Linked DNA regions of Homo sapiens: regions 2 and 3 are each linked to region 1. Evidence: promoter capture Hi-C in 16 types of primary human blood cells and fetal thymus (Javierre and others, 2016). All regions are on one chromosome and are shown on one strand. The core of a region is centred on a gene start or on the middle of the fragment in contact, and the rest is flanking DNA. Distances in the headings are between cores, read along the strand shown. Region 1 holds the start of MPDU1 (mannose-P-dolichol utilization defect 1). Region 2 holds the start of BCL6B (BCL6B transcription repressor). Region 3 has its middle 11 kb from the start of SLC16A11.

Region 1 (3,709 bases), core at 307-2,806:
ACACCACCATGCCCGGTTAATTTTTGTGTTTTTAGTAGAGACAGGGTTTCACCATGTTGGCCAGGCTGGTCTCGAACTCCTGACCTCAGATGATCCACCTGCCTCAGCCTCCTTAAAGTGCTGGGATTATAAGCTCGAGCTACCGCACCGGGCCCCAGACTGTTACTTTCCAAAACAGCTTTTCTCCGATGCCTACCACCCCCCACATCCAATCTTCCATTCCCTATAAATTAACACCCAAACTTGGCTTGACCTCCACGGCTCTCCATTGCTTCCCCATATAAAGCTGAGAAATGCCCAAGAGCTCTCTGATCCTTTATTTCCCTTCTCTGGGCCAATGGGTGCCCCATTTCACATGTCTTCTCTCTCCAAAGACAAGTCTTCATACCATTTTTTTTTTCTTATTTTAATTTTGAGACGGAGTTTCACTCTTGTTGCCCAGGCTGGAGTGCAATGGCACGATCTTGGCTCACTGTAACCTCTGTCTCCCGGGTTTAAGCGATTCTCCTGCCTCAGCCTCCCGAGTAGCTGGGATTACAGGCGCCTGCCACAACGCCCGGCTAATTTTTTGTATTTTTAGTAGAGGCGGGGTTTCGCCCTATTGGCCAGGCTGGTCTCGAACGCCTGACCTCAGGTGATCCACCCGCTTCGGCCTCCCAAAGTGCTGGGATTACAGGCGTGAGCCACCGTGCCCGCCCCATACCACTCTTTCTTGAACACTCTGACTGTCCCTGGCCCCTACTCAGGGACTAAACCTTACCCTTTCAAGGCTTGCTTTTATGCCCTGGCCATCCACAACTTCTCTAGCCTTGAAGCCTTCCCCTCAAGGAACTTGGTCTAGTGGGAGTCTGACTCTCACGGGTCATGAATGCGGCTAAAACAAAGTGCCCCACGAGCTCAAGAGAGGTACCATGAACTGACAGGGGCAGACTGACGCTCCCCAAACGGTCTGACGGTGACCCTTGTGGAGCTGTCTCGCAATCAGAAAAAGGAAGGGAGGCAAATTATTCCGAAATCAGACTATGAGCAAACCTGGAGGCTGGAAAGAAAGCAATCAGGGTGGCGGAGCCTTTGGGGGTGCAATGAAGGCCCGATTCATCAGGGGCTTTGAATTAAGTTTAACCCTGCTAGCGATCTAATAAAGGTTGGCATGATTTGACTTAATTTTTATTTTGTTTTATAAAAGTTGACTCTTCGTTTTTCATTGTCGCTACAGCACAAACTCCACAAAGAAGTAATTCCACCCGGTGACTTCCCCACTGGCACTAATATGGTGTCCTCCCTCTAAGGAGCCCGAGACACTTCCGCCCTTCTCAGAAGTGACTTCCGTCCAGCTCGGCATGGCGGCAGTCACTGCCGTCACTTAGTCGCCGATCAAGGCTTGGACTAAGGGCCCACGGTCACTCGAGTAGGACTTGGATCGGATGCTGAATAAAACTCACCGTGAAGCAAGTCCCACTGAACGAAAAGTTGGTCGTAGCATTTCTCAGGTAAAAGAATCGGCACGAGCAGCCGTTTAAGCGGTCCGTCCGCCTCGGCCGCCATATTGCAAAGCTAGCTTCCGCCAGTCTCTCCAGACCGCCATTGACTTTCGTTGCGCGTGCGCGCTGCGGACACTCCGCCTCCCGTTCTTTTCCCGCGGCGAAGCTGGCCCGCCCCGTGCCCCGCTCTTTCTGACGCTACCCACCCTCACTCTAGTGGCGTAAAATAAGTCTCAGTCAGGGACCACGTTTTGGACGCGCTGTTGGAATTGTAAAGCTTGCCGAAGCTGCACGCCTGCGCGGTTAGACCTCCCACGCCTTTGTTGACGCTTCCAGTTTGGAAGCCAGATTTACACCCCTGCCTTTCTCCGCTCCTCCTGCTGGGCGCCATCTTGTCTTCTCCTAGCACACTTTGTATTGTTCGAAGTTGAGAGAGAAGGAGCCGGAGTCTCCGAGGTGGCGTTGGGTGGGGGCGCTACTAGCTCCCGTTCTCTCAGCGTCTCTAGAGGGAAGGGCGCCGGTGGGAGCAGGAGAGTCTGCACCGGGCAGGCCTCCTTAGGTGCCGGGTTGCGCGCAGGGCCCTGTGCTTGTCTCGCCTCCGGTTGGCTCAGGCCTCGGAGCATGAGTGCGCCGGCAACTGCTGGGCCCGGGACAGTGAAGCAGAGGAGGAGGTGGGGGAGGCGAGCCCAGGTCGGGGAAGGGCAGCACCTGAATCACCCTTGGGGCCCAGACCCCCAAGAGTCTCCGGGGAGCCGAGGCCTGGCGAGGCAGTCCCGGGATTCGCCCCCTCCCCGCTGGCCCGAGGGCGCACCACGTGCTGGGCAGAGACTTCGGCGAGGCCGAGTGGACCCTGCAGCGCTGCTTGGGAAAGGGCACCTTGGACTACCTGGTGGGGGCGTTGTGCTTCGTTACCGACCGCCGGGACGCCAACCCACGGTGCCCACCCGTGCGTCATTCCGCTGTGGATCAGCCCTTTGGCGGCCCCCCTCCAAAGTCTACAAGGTCACACGGATGTCTGCAGGCAGAGGTGGGGCTGCTGGGGCCCTGCCAGGTGAGGGCTGCCCTTGTGGGGCAGTCTCTGGGCCTTGGAGGCCGGAAGCCTCCTGGGGCTCCTACGGCTGGGGGGTGCTGCTCATCCTGGCTCCCAGGGATTGCGCCGTAGCCAGCTGTAATGGGTGGGACTGGCGCTCACTGCTGGTGCAGGCTGTGGCCATCTGGGAGGTCCTTTCTGGAATCTGGACCTTGGCTGTCCTGAGAGTGACACTCCTCATCTCAAGTACTGGGGGCATGAAGTTAGGCTTGGCAGGTGGCCCCGTGTGGGGGGCATGCTGTTCCCAGGAGCCCCCAGTGGAGGTCAGAGTACCCACTGCTCCTTCTTGATTCAACCCCTTGTAGGTGGGATAGGAGCATGCCAGGTGCTGCGAGGGTTTAATCGGGCTCTTCTGCTGGCCTTGAATATGGTGGACAGGACAGGACATTCTCATTGCTCAGGAGCCACTGGCGCTGCCTTTGGGAATGAAGTTCCACAGCCCCCCACTCATTGCTTTGGCTGTCTGCTGCATTTGAAACTGTACGAGGGTCAGGAAGAAGGCTGCGGGGATGAATGGCTCTACCGGCTTGCCACGGATGGGGAACTGGAGCAGCCAGTGGCCCCAAGAGGAGGAAGGAAGGGAGGCACGGCAGACCCAACACCAGCTGTGCCAGGCTTTGGGGGGTGAACCCATGAGGCATCGTCACACACTGACATTTTCATCCCTCCTCAGCAGCTGCTTCCGGCTCCCTGAGACCCAGCCATGGAAGGCATAGAAAGGCATGTGACAAGAAACTCATGGCTTTTAATCCTGGCAGGACAAGGAAAACCCCGTCAAAGATTTGCATAAATTTTGCTGCTCTCCTGCTGGGGGGGGGGGGGGGGCAGTTCGTCACATTTAATAAAATTCTCTCCCTCCCTTCTCCCGACTGCATTATCTCATATTTATTTATTTGAGACAGTCTGGCTCTGTCGCCCAGGCTGGAGTGCAGTGGCGCGATCTTGGCTTAGTGGCGCGATGACGGCTCACTGCAACCTCCACCTCCTGGGTTCAAGCAGTTCTGCCTCAGCCTCCCAAGTAGCTGGGATTACAGGCCAGCTGGGATTACGCCGCCACACCTGGCTAATTGTATTTTTAGTAGAGACAGGGTTTCACCATGTTGGCCAGGCTGGTCTCAAACTCCTGACCTCCAGTGAT
Region 2 (3,709 bases), core at 845-3,344, 560 kb after region 1:
TGAGGAGGTAGGGGGTACTGGCTGGAGCCCCACATTTGAACTGCACAGTGGCAGCAGTTGGAGAGAGCCTAGGCAGATGGCAAGGAAAGGGTTAAAAGAGATTGTACGGTTGAGGGGTGGGGGTTCTCTCCTGGGAAATTTGGAGCCAAAGGCCTGCCCTCTCAGGGTGAGCCAATATTGTTGACCAATGAGCCACATCCATTGTACTGCCCAAGTGCCACCCTGCTGAATAAACCTGGTCTCTGGCCAGCTCCTTAAGGTGAGCTAGTGTCTCTGAAACCCACCACCTATCTCCCTTCCTCCTGACCATCAAGGCCCAATGACTCTGTCTTCTAGCTGAGGCCAGCTCTGACAAATTCTTGAGGTTCTAGACTCTGTACCTGCTCTGGGGACCAGGAATGGGTCCTTCTTCACTGCTGCTGCTGCTGCTGCTGCTGCTGCTGGAGGCCTCGTCTCCACTGGGGAGCCTGGCTTGGGGGCAAGGTTGACCAGAACTTCTCTCCCCGACCAGGCTCCCTGCTTGGGAGGCCTGAGAGTTTAGCACGATGTACTTGTACTTTTTCCAGTTGCAGGCCTTGGGGTCAGGGCTGGCTGGACTGGGGGGGCCTTGACTGCAGCTTCGAGATTCAGTAGGTGGGTCTGGGTGTCCTTCGGAGCGCCTGGGACTACCTGGTGGAGGGGCCGTTGGGGGTGTTGGGGGTTCTGCTTCCAGGGGGCGCAGGGAGATGCCCAGAGGTTCATAGCTGGGGAAAGTGTGATGAACGTTAGTGCCATTTCCTAAACTCTGCCTTTGCCCTTAACACCTCACCCACAGAGAACGCCGAGCCAGGGTCCCTCACCTGGCCTGGATGAAGCGGTGGCATGCCTGGACCACGTGCTCCATCTGCAAATAGGTGGCGGCCGCTAGGACTGCTGGTGCAGTGGCTGGAGAGAGGCGCAGGCGCGAAGTGTACATGAAGTCCAATAGAGGGGCGAAGCCTCTCGCTTCGGGACCCCCGGGCAGAGAGAGCACGTCCACCCCGACTCCCGCACGGCCCCGGAAAATTGAATAGAAGAAGCCACTAGAGAGAGAGCAGATAAGTCCTTTGGGGGCTGGGGAACCAAGGGAGACATGCGCAGCTTCAGGAAGCCCCGCCCCCTGAAAAAGTCCCGCCTCCTCACTATCACCCCGCCCCCAATTCTGGGACGCTCCGCCTCCTGCTTCTGAAAGACTTGGCTTCGGATTCCCTCTCAACGGCCCTGTGGTCCCACCCCTTTCCCATTTGGCCCCGCCCCAGGCCCCACCCCTCGAACCTGCAGGCGATGAGAACTGCCTTGTGTGCTCTGAGGGGTTGCCCGCCAACCAGCAGCGTGACGTCAGTGAGGATCCCGCGCAGGCGCAGCTCGTTGAGGTTGCCCAGCACGTCGGAGGAGTGGCGAGTGAACTCGCGGACGTAGCCCAGCGCTCCCTCCGGGGCGGCGGGGGAACCCATAGCGACACAGGCCTGTAGAGGCCGTGGAAAGTGCTCTGGATCCAGGCAGTCCTAAGACGCCTTCCCTCCTCTGTTTGCCTTTTCCTTCCGAGGTGCAACTAGAGCCAGGACTTCCAGCCCCTAGCCCCGGCACACGCAGCCTCCCTCCTAATTCTTCTTGTTCATTCTGCCCTCTACGACACCCTCGCTCCCTTGCCTCTTCCAGATCCCACAGCGCTTGGAGCCAGTTGAAGGTTCCACACCGCGGCGTCGTTGGCGAGCGTGGGGAATCCCGCGCCCATCGCCCTGGGTTCGACCCCCAGTGCCCCTCCAGCACCGCCACTCCCCTCTGCGCGCCTGTGTCTCAGGTGTCCAACCCTGCCTCGAGATCTCACGGCCTGCCGTCCACACACCTCCAAATCCCAGCCGAGGCTCCCTTCCCCGAACTACGGAATTCTGCGACTCCTATCTAGTCCCCAATCCCTAGTTTAGCCCAATTTCTGGGACTCAGGCTCGCTGATGGCAAGCTCCACACAAGCTCCTACCCTCTTGGGGGACCCAGGAGTCTGGCTCCCTCAGTCTCTTGTTCTTACCCCCGTCCTGCAGGGGCCGCGGCTTCTCTTCTTAAGGGGGGCGGGGTCTCTCTCCCCTCTTGGCCTCGGCTCCTTTATCTGGCCGGGATGTCGGGGGCGGGGGTGGAGGTGGGGTGAACGCCTGGGTCTGTATCCTTCCTTCCTCCCTCGCTCTCCAGATGGCGAGTCCAGGGCGGGGTCTCCGTCTCGAGGGCGGGACCTCAGAAACAAGGGGTGGTCGTAACGTAGGGGGTCTTGGGTCACTGCAAGTGGACACGAGGACGGGGATATTGGAATTGGGGAGGAGGTTAGGGATATCGAGGTTGGCAATACGGGAGTCTGAGTCGTCGGAAGGCCTGGGCCAGTGAAAATTGGTGTGTTGGCTTTTGGGAGGGTTTGCCAGGAGCCAACCTTTGCTGCAGGACAAAGTGCATACGGCAACCCCCTCTCCCTCTCTTGTACTGTGTTAAGGGAGAAAAGGGGGAGCCCAACGAGACAGCAGGTTTGGGCAGACGACAGTGGGCTCCCGTAGGGTCTCAGACGGGGAGGGTGTGGTGTGAATGACAGGCTACTCTACCCGGGCCTACAAAAAGGGGGGCTCTGGCCGGGCGGGGTACGGAGAGGGCGGATATGATTTCTAGTTGGTTTCCTTCCATTGTCCTGCGACCGGACGGCTCCGCCAGCTGCTTCCCCTCGAGGAGGTGGGGAAAGCCCCGAGGTGGGGGTGGAGGGGCGAGAGACGCTCGGGAGACCTAGGCGTCCGGCCTCTCTCGCTCCCGACTCTCTTCTGGGTCCTTGTAGGGATCCAGAGAGATGGACTCCCGCCCAAAGCCCGCTTGCTTTCCCCCAATCCCAGCTCACGAGGGCCTCGGGCACCCGCCCGTCGGCTACGCTTGGAGGCTGGCGGGACGCCGGGGTCCAGCGCGGCAAGTAGGCAAGGCTCGGCAATGTGCGGCTCCTTCCACGAGGGGGCGGCCGAGCACTGGCCTCGCCTCGCCCCTCGTCTCCACCCGGCCTGGGGTGCGCTCAGACCCGGGCGCAGGATCCATTTGGTCTGGGCGGCTGAAACCTTTAGCCTCCTCCCCTTTGCGCGGGTTTATTTTGCACCTCTGTCTCCTAGGAGGGGACTAGGGCTGGGCGGAGGGAGCTAGAGTTAGGAGACCGAGGGGACTTTCCCCTCAGGCTGGGGTTCCTACCCGAGGTGAGAAATCGCGGGCTTTAGGAGCCAGGGGAATGGGTGGGACAAGAAGCGGGACCTGAGCCTGGGAACTCCGGGTTTTCTTTTCGAATTAAGCTAGACACTGCTACCCAGATGTCTTTGGAGGTGACTTTTAATTGAACATTAAAATTGGGTGGGGTAAACGAGAAGGGAAAACAAGGAGGAGGGAGAGAGGGCAGGAGGGGGCTTAACCACCCTAATTTGAAGTCCCTGATCTGAGAGATGGGCATGGATCACACCCTCATATTTTGTTTCGGGAGACATTGCGGGCAGGCAAGGCAAAGCTCATTTGGAGAAGGGGTGCTAGAGCTGAATCCAGCTGCAAGGCAGAAGCTCCCCGGATTTGGGCTGGGGAGAGTGTACAGTTGGCCAGGAATGGCCGACCATGGTCCACGGGGCTGGATATCAGGCCCGGGGCCCTCCCCTTCAGACCGGAGTGTGTCTTTATTTGAATGCATGAAAGAACA
Region 3 (3,709 bases), core at 720-3,219, 530 kb after region 1:
AAACTATTAATTTATAAGCAACAGAAATTTGAGCCAGGTGTGGTGGCTTATGCTTGTAATCCCAGCAGCTCTGGAGGCTGCGGTGAGAGAACTGCTTGAGGCCAGGAGCAGTCTGGGCAACAAAGTGAGACGCATCTCTGAAAAACAAACAAAAACCACAGAAATTTATTGCTCACATTTCTGGAAGCTGGGAAGCCAGAAGATTTGGTGTTTGGTAAGGGCTTGCTCTCATAGATGGCACCTTCTAGCTGTGTCCTCACAGGGCAGAAGGAGTGGACAGGCTGCCTCAGGCCTCTTTCATAAGGGCACTCAATCTCATTCACAAGGTCTTCATCCTCATGAAGGCCTCAGTCACCTCCTAAAGGACCCACCTCTTAATACTTCGCATTGGGGACTAGATTTTTTTTTTTTTTTTTTGAGATGGAGTTTCGCTCTTGTTGCCCAGGCTGGAGTGCAATGGCATGATCTCGGCTCACCACAACCTCCGCCTCCCAGGTTTAAGCAATTCTCCTGCCTCAGCCTCCCGAGTAGCTGGGATTACAGGCATGTGCCACCGTGCCCGGCTAATTTTTTTGTATTTTTAGTAGAGACAGAGTATCTCCATGTTGGTCAGGCTGATCTCGAACTCCTGATCTCAGGTGATCCGCCCACCTCGGCCTCCCAAAGTGTTGGGATTACAGGCGTGAGCCACCGGACCCGGCCTGGGATTAGATTTCAACATATGAATTTGACGGGGAGAGGCACAAACATTAAGATCATAGCAATTACCATCTTTTTTTTCCTCAAAAGTAGGAACTATTATAATTTGCTTTGGGGATGAGGGAACTATTGCAAAGAGAGGTTGAATAACTTGCTCTAGGTTATATAGCCAGTAAGTACCAAAGCCAGGGCTTGAACCCAGACAATCTGGTTCCAGGGTTCGTGTTTGTCCCACCATGTTATGTTGCCTCTTAATAACATATACTAAAATACACTCACATTCCACACTAAATATATTTTTACAATTAAAAATTTAAAAGATTTCTTTTTTTTTTTTTTGAGACGGAGTCTTGTTCTGTCGCCCAGGCTGGAGTGCAGTGGTGCGATCCCTGCTCACTGCAAGCTCCGCCTCCTGGGTTCACTCCGTTCTCCTGCCTCATCCTCCCGAGTAGCTGGGACTACAGGTGCCCGCCACTACACCCGGCTAATTTTTTTGTGTTTTTAGTGGAGATGGGGTTTCACCCTGTTAGCCAGGATGGTCTCGATCTCCTGACCTCGTGATCCGCCCACCTCGGCCTCCCAAAGTGCTGGGATTACAAGCGTGAGCCACCGTGCCCGGCCCAAAAATTTAAAAGATTTCTAAGATTTTTTGCCGTTTAAAATCTTAAAAGGACGTTTATTCTTTTAAAGGATTGTTTGTCTATAAGAAACTCAGTGAATCTATGATTGGCTCTGATTTCTCAGCAATCACGATAAACATTTAGGAAATCCTGCAAAGTGAAAAAAAGCTTCAAATTGTTTTCCAATGTAATGAAAATTTAGGAACATGAAATTTAACAAAGAAATGGACTAATATTATGTTTTGTAGACATTTTTAAAAACGCTTTAATATTCATTACTTTAGATTTTTAAGTTTGCCTTTTGTATTTGGAAATCGGTACACTTTTTCATATCCCTAGCATTTCTGTAAGCATGGGGAATGCTTTTAGCCCTAAGCCCTGCATACTTAGGGAATAAATATACTCTCCTCAAGGACAACAGGGAAATAAACCCAGAAACCACATGCCATGCAAGAACAGCGGGGCTTTATGAGTCCTGGAGCTCAGGTGTCAGCCCACTCTGCTGCTCACTGTGTTCAGCACTCACTGGCCACAGTCCTGAAACATCAGCTCTTGGGGCGGTGGCATCAACTTCCTATCTCCCAGATCCCTGGGCCCAGGGAAGGGGAAGCTGATTACCCATAAATCAGGGTGCTCGGCCGGGCATGGTGGCTTAAGCCTGTAATCCCAGCACTTTGGGAGGCCGAGGCAGGTGGATTACCTGAGCTTGGGAGTTCACCACCAGCCTGGGTAACACGGTGAATCCCTGTCTCTACTAAAATACAAAAAATTAGCCGGGCATGGCGGCATGTGCCTGTAATCCCAGCTACTCGGGAGGCTGAGGCAGGCGAATTGCTTGAACCTGGGAGGCGGAGGTTGCAGTGAGCAGAGATTGCGCCACTGCACTCCAGCCTGGGTGACAGAATGAGACTCCATCTAAAAAAAAAAAAATCAGAGTCCTCTTTCTACGTACCCAGTTGATGAGATGCCCGAGGCCCCGCCTCACCTCTCTGTAGGCCTGTGCAGGTGTGATTTCCCTCCAGGTGAGACCATGACACCCGTCCCTCACAAATGTGTTTTAAACCAGAATCGGTCTCATTGCAAGGGACTCCTGATTGTGAATGGAGGAGAGAAAGATAGGATGAAAGCTTGAGATGGAGGTAGCTAAAGCTGGGTATGGCTCTTTGAATGGGATAGAGGGAAGGAACCCTAAAGAAGAGATGCTGCCCAGCATTTAAAACGTTTTGACAGTAGGGGAGAGGCAGGAGAAAGCTTTGCAGAGGAAATGGCATGGAGATGTGGGCAGGGGCAAAGGAGATTCATGGCCAACAAGAGGTACAGAAAGGAACGCACTGGGAGGGACAAGATCCACCTGCACAAGGACAGGAAGAGGCTTGTGTGGCATCCACTGCAGCCAGTTGCAGCCTCTTCAGCGTCTGGGCCCTTCTATGACTTTGGGACTTTCTCAGGGCTTAGCCCCCACGCGACTCCTCCCAGTGTTCACAAAGGCATTTCTGCCTTGGGGCAAGAAAACAGGCACCATTTGCTTACTGGGCCCCCAAAACTCTGCCTTGCATATGTCAGATCCTCCAAGATGTGTAATTTACATCCCTGCAGAAAACCTGTTATCTGACCTCCTGTCCCCTCCTGCCTTGGCTTCTGGTCCTGGTTGATATTCCTTGGGGAGGTAGAGACTCTGGCCAGGCAGGGCTGCTGCAGCCCTAAGGGCTGATGTGGGTTACCATGTCCACTAAGAGCCTGCATCCTTCAAGTCAGATGCCCAGGTCTCAGGCTGAGGCTGGGAAGGCAGACAAAGGGACCCAAAAAACTCAGGTAGCTGAGAGGTTGGTATAGCAGCAGGGAGATGACAAATATCACCTTCTGGCCCCTTCTGGTCTGACTGCCCCTCACAAATCCAGACAGGAGGGGCATAGTGACTTGGAGTAGAATTGGACTGGCGTAGAGATGAAAGGGTGGCTACCGGTGGCTAGAAAATGGGATGGAATGAAATGGATGGGAACCTACATTTGTAGGACGCCTGCCCTGTGCCTGGAGTTGTGCTGGGTCCTTCCCAAGCTTTACTTCACTGAAGTCTCACCAACAATCCTTTGAAGCATTGCCCCCTTTTTATAGATGCCTGGAAATGGTGGGAGTCGGAACTCAGGGACTGTGCTTTTAATAACTCACCAGGTCTGGCTGGGCACAGTGGCTCATGCCTGTAATCCCAGCACTTTGGGAGGCCGAGGTGGGTGGATCACGAGGTCAGGAGTTCGAGACCAGCCTGGCCAATATGGTGAAACCCCGTCTCTACTAAAAATACAAAAATTAGCCGGGCATGGTGGCGGGTGCCTGTAGTCGCAGCTACTCAGGAGGCTGAGGCAGGAGAATCGCTGGAACCCGGGAGGCGGAGG

What was found. The method cuts DNA at HindIII sites, captures the fragments that hold promoters and counts their contacts. A CHiCAGO score of 5 or more calls a contact.
Region 2: a contact is called between the fragment with the promoter of BCL6B here and the fragment with the promoter of MPDU1 in region 1, in 1 of 17 cell types (monocytes). The highest score is 7.9, in monocytes.
Region 3: a contact is called between a fragment that was not itself captured here and the fragment with the promoter of MPDU1 in region 1, in 1 of 17 cell types (total B cells). The highest score is 5.4, in total B cells.

What each region holds. Positions count from the first base shown.
Region 1 is chr17:7,581,699-7,585,407 of GRCh38, reverse strand. It overlaps MPDU1 (mannose-P-dolichol utilization defect 1), which reads right to left and starts at 1,556. Exons shown (of 7, transcript NM_004870.4): 1 at 1,443-1,556. The coding sequence starts at 1,545. It overlaps MPDU1-AS1 (MPDU1 antisense RNA 1), which reads left to right and starts at 1,316. Exons shown (of 2, transcript NR_136402.2): 1 at 1,316-1,490; 2 at 3,245-3,434. It overlaps CD68 (CD68 molecule), which reads right to left. Exons shown (of 6, transcript NM_001251.3): 6 at 3,297-3,709. RefSeq lists enhancers at 111-983, 1,218-1,747, 984-1,858, 1,858-1,907, 1,859-2,732. The HindIII fragment of the contact is 8,258 bases long and covers 1-1,760 here.
Region 2 is chr17:7,021,435-7,025,143 of GRCh38, reverse strand. BCL6B (BCL6B transcription repressor) reads right to left here and starts at 2,094. Exons shown (of 9, transcript NM_181844.4): 1 at 2,045-2,094; 2 at 1,294-1,484; 3 at 840-1,061; 4 at 381-743; 5 at 1-68. The coding sequence starts at 1,472. RefSeq lists a silencer at 3,001-3,140. The HindIII fragment of the contact is 4,378 bases long and covers 1-3,709 here.
Region 3 is chr17:7,052,978-7,056,686 of GRCh38, reverse strand. No RefSeq gene overlaps it. Among named protein-coding and RNA genes, the nearest start is that of SLC16A11, 11 kb to the right of the region's middle. The HindIII fragment of the contact is 959 bases long and covers 1,490-2,448 here.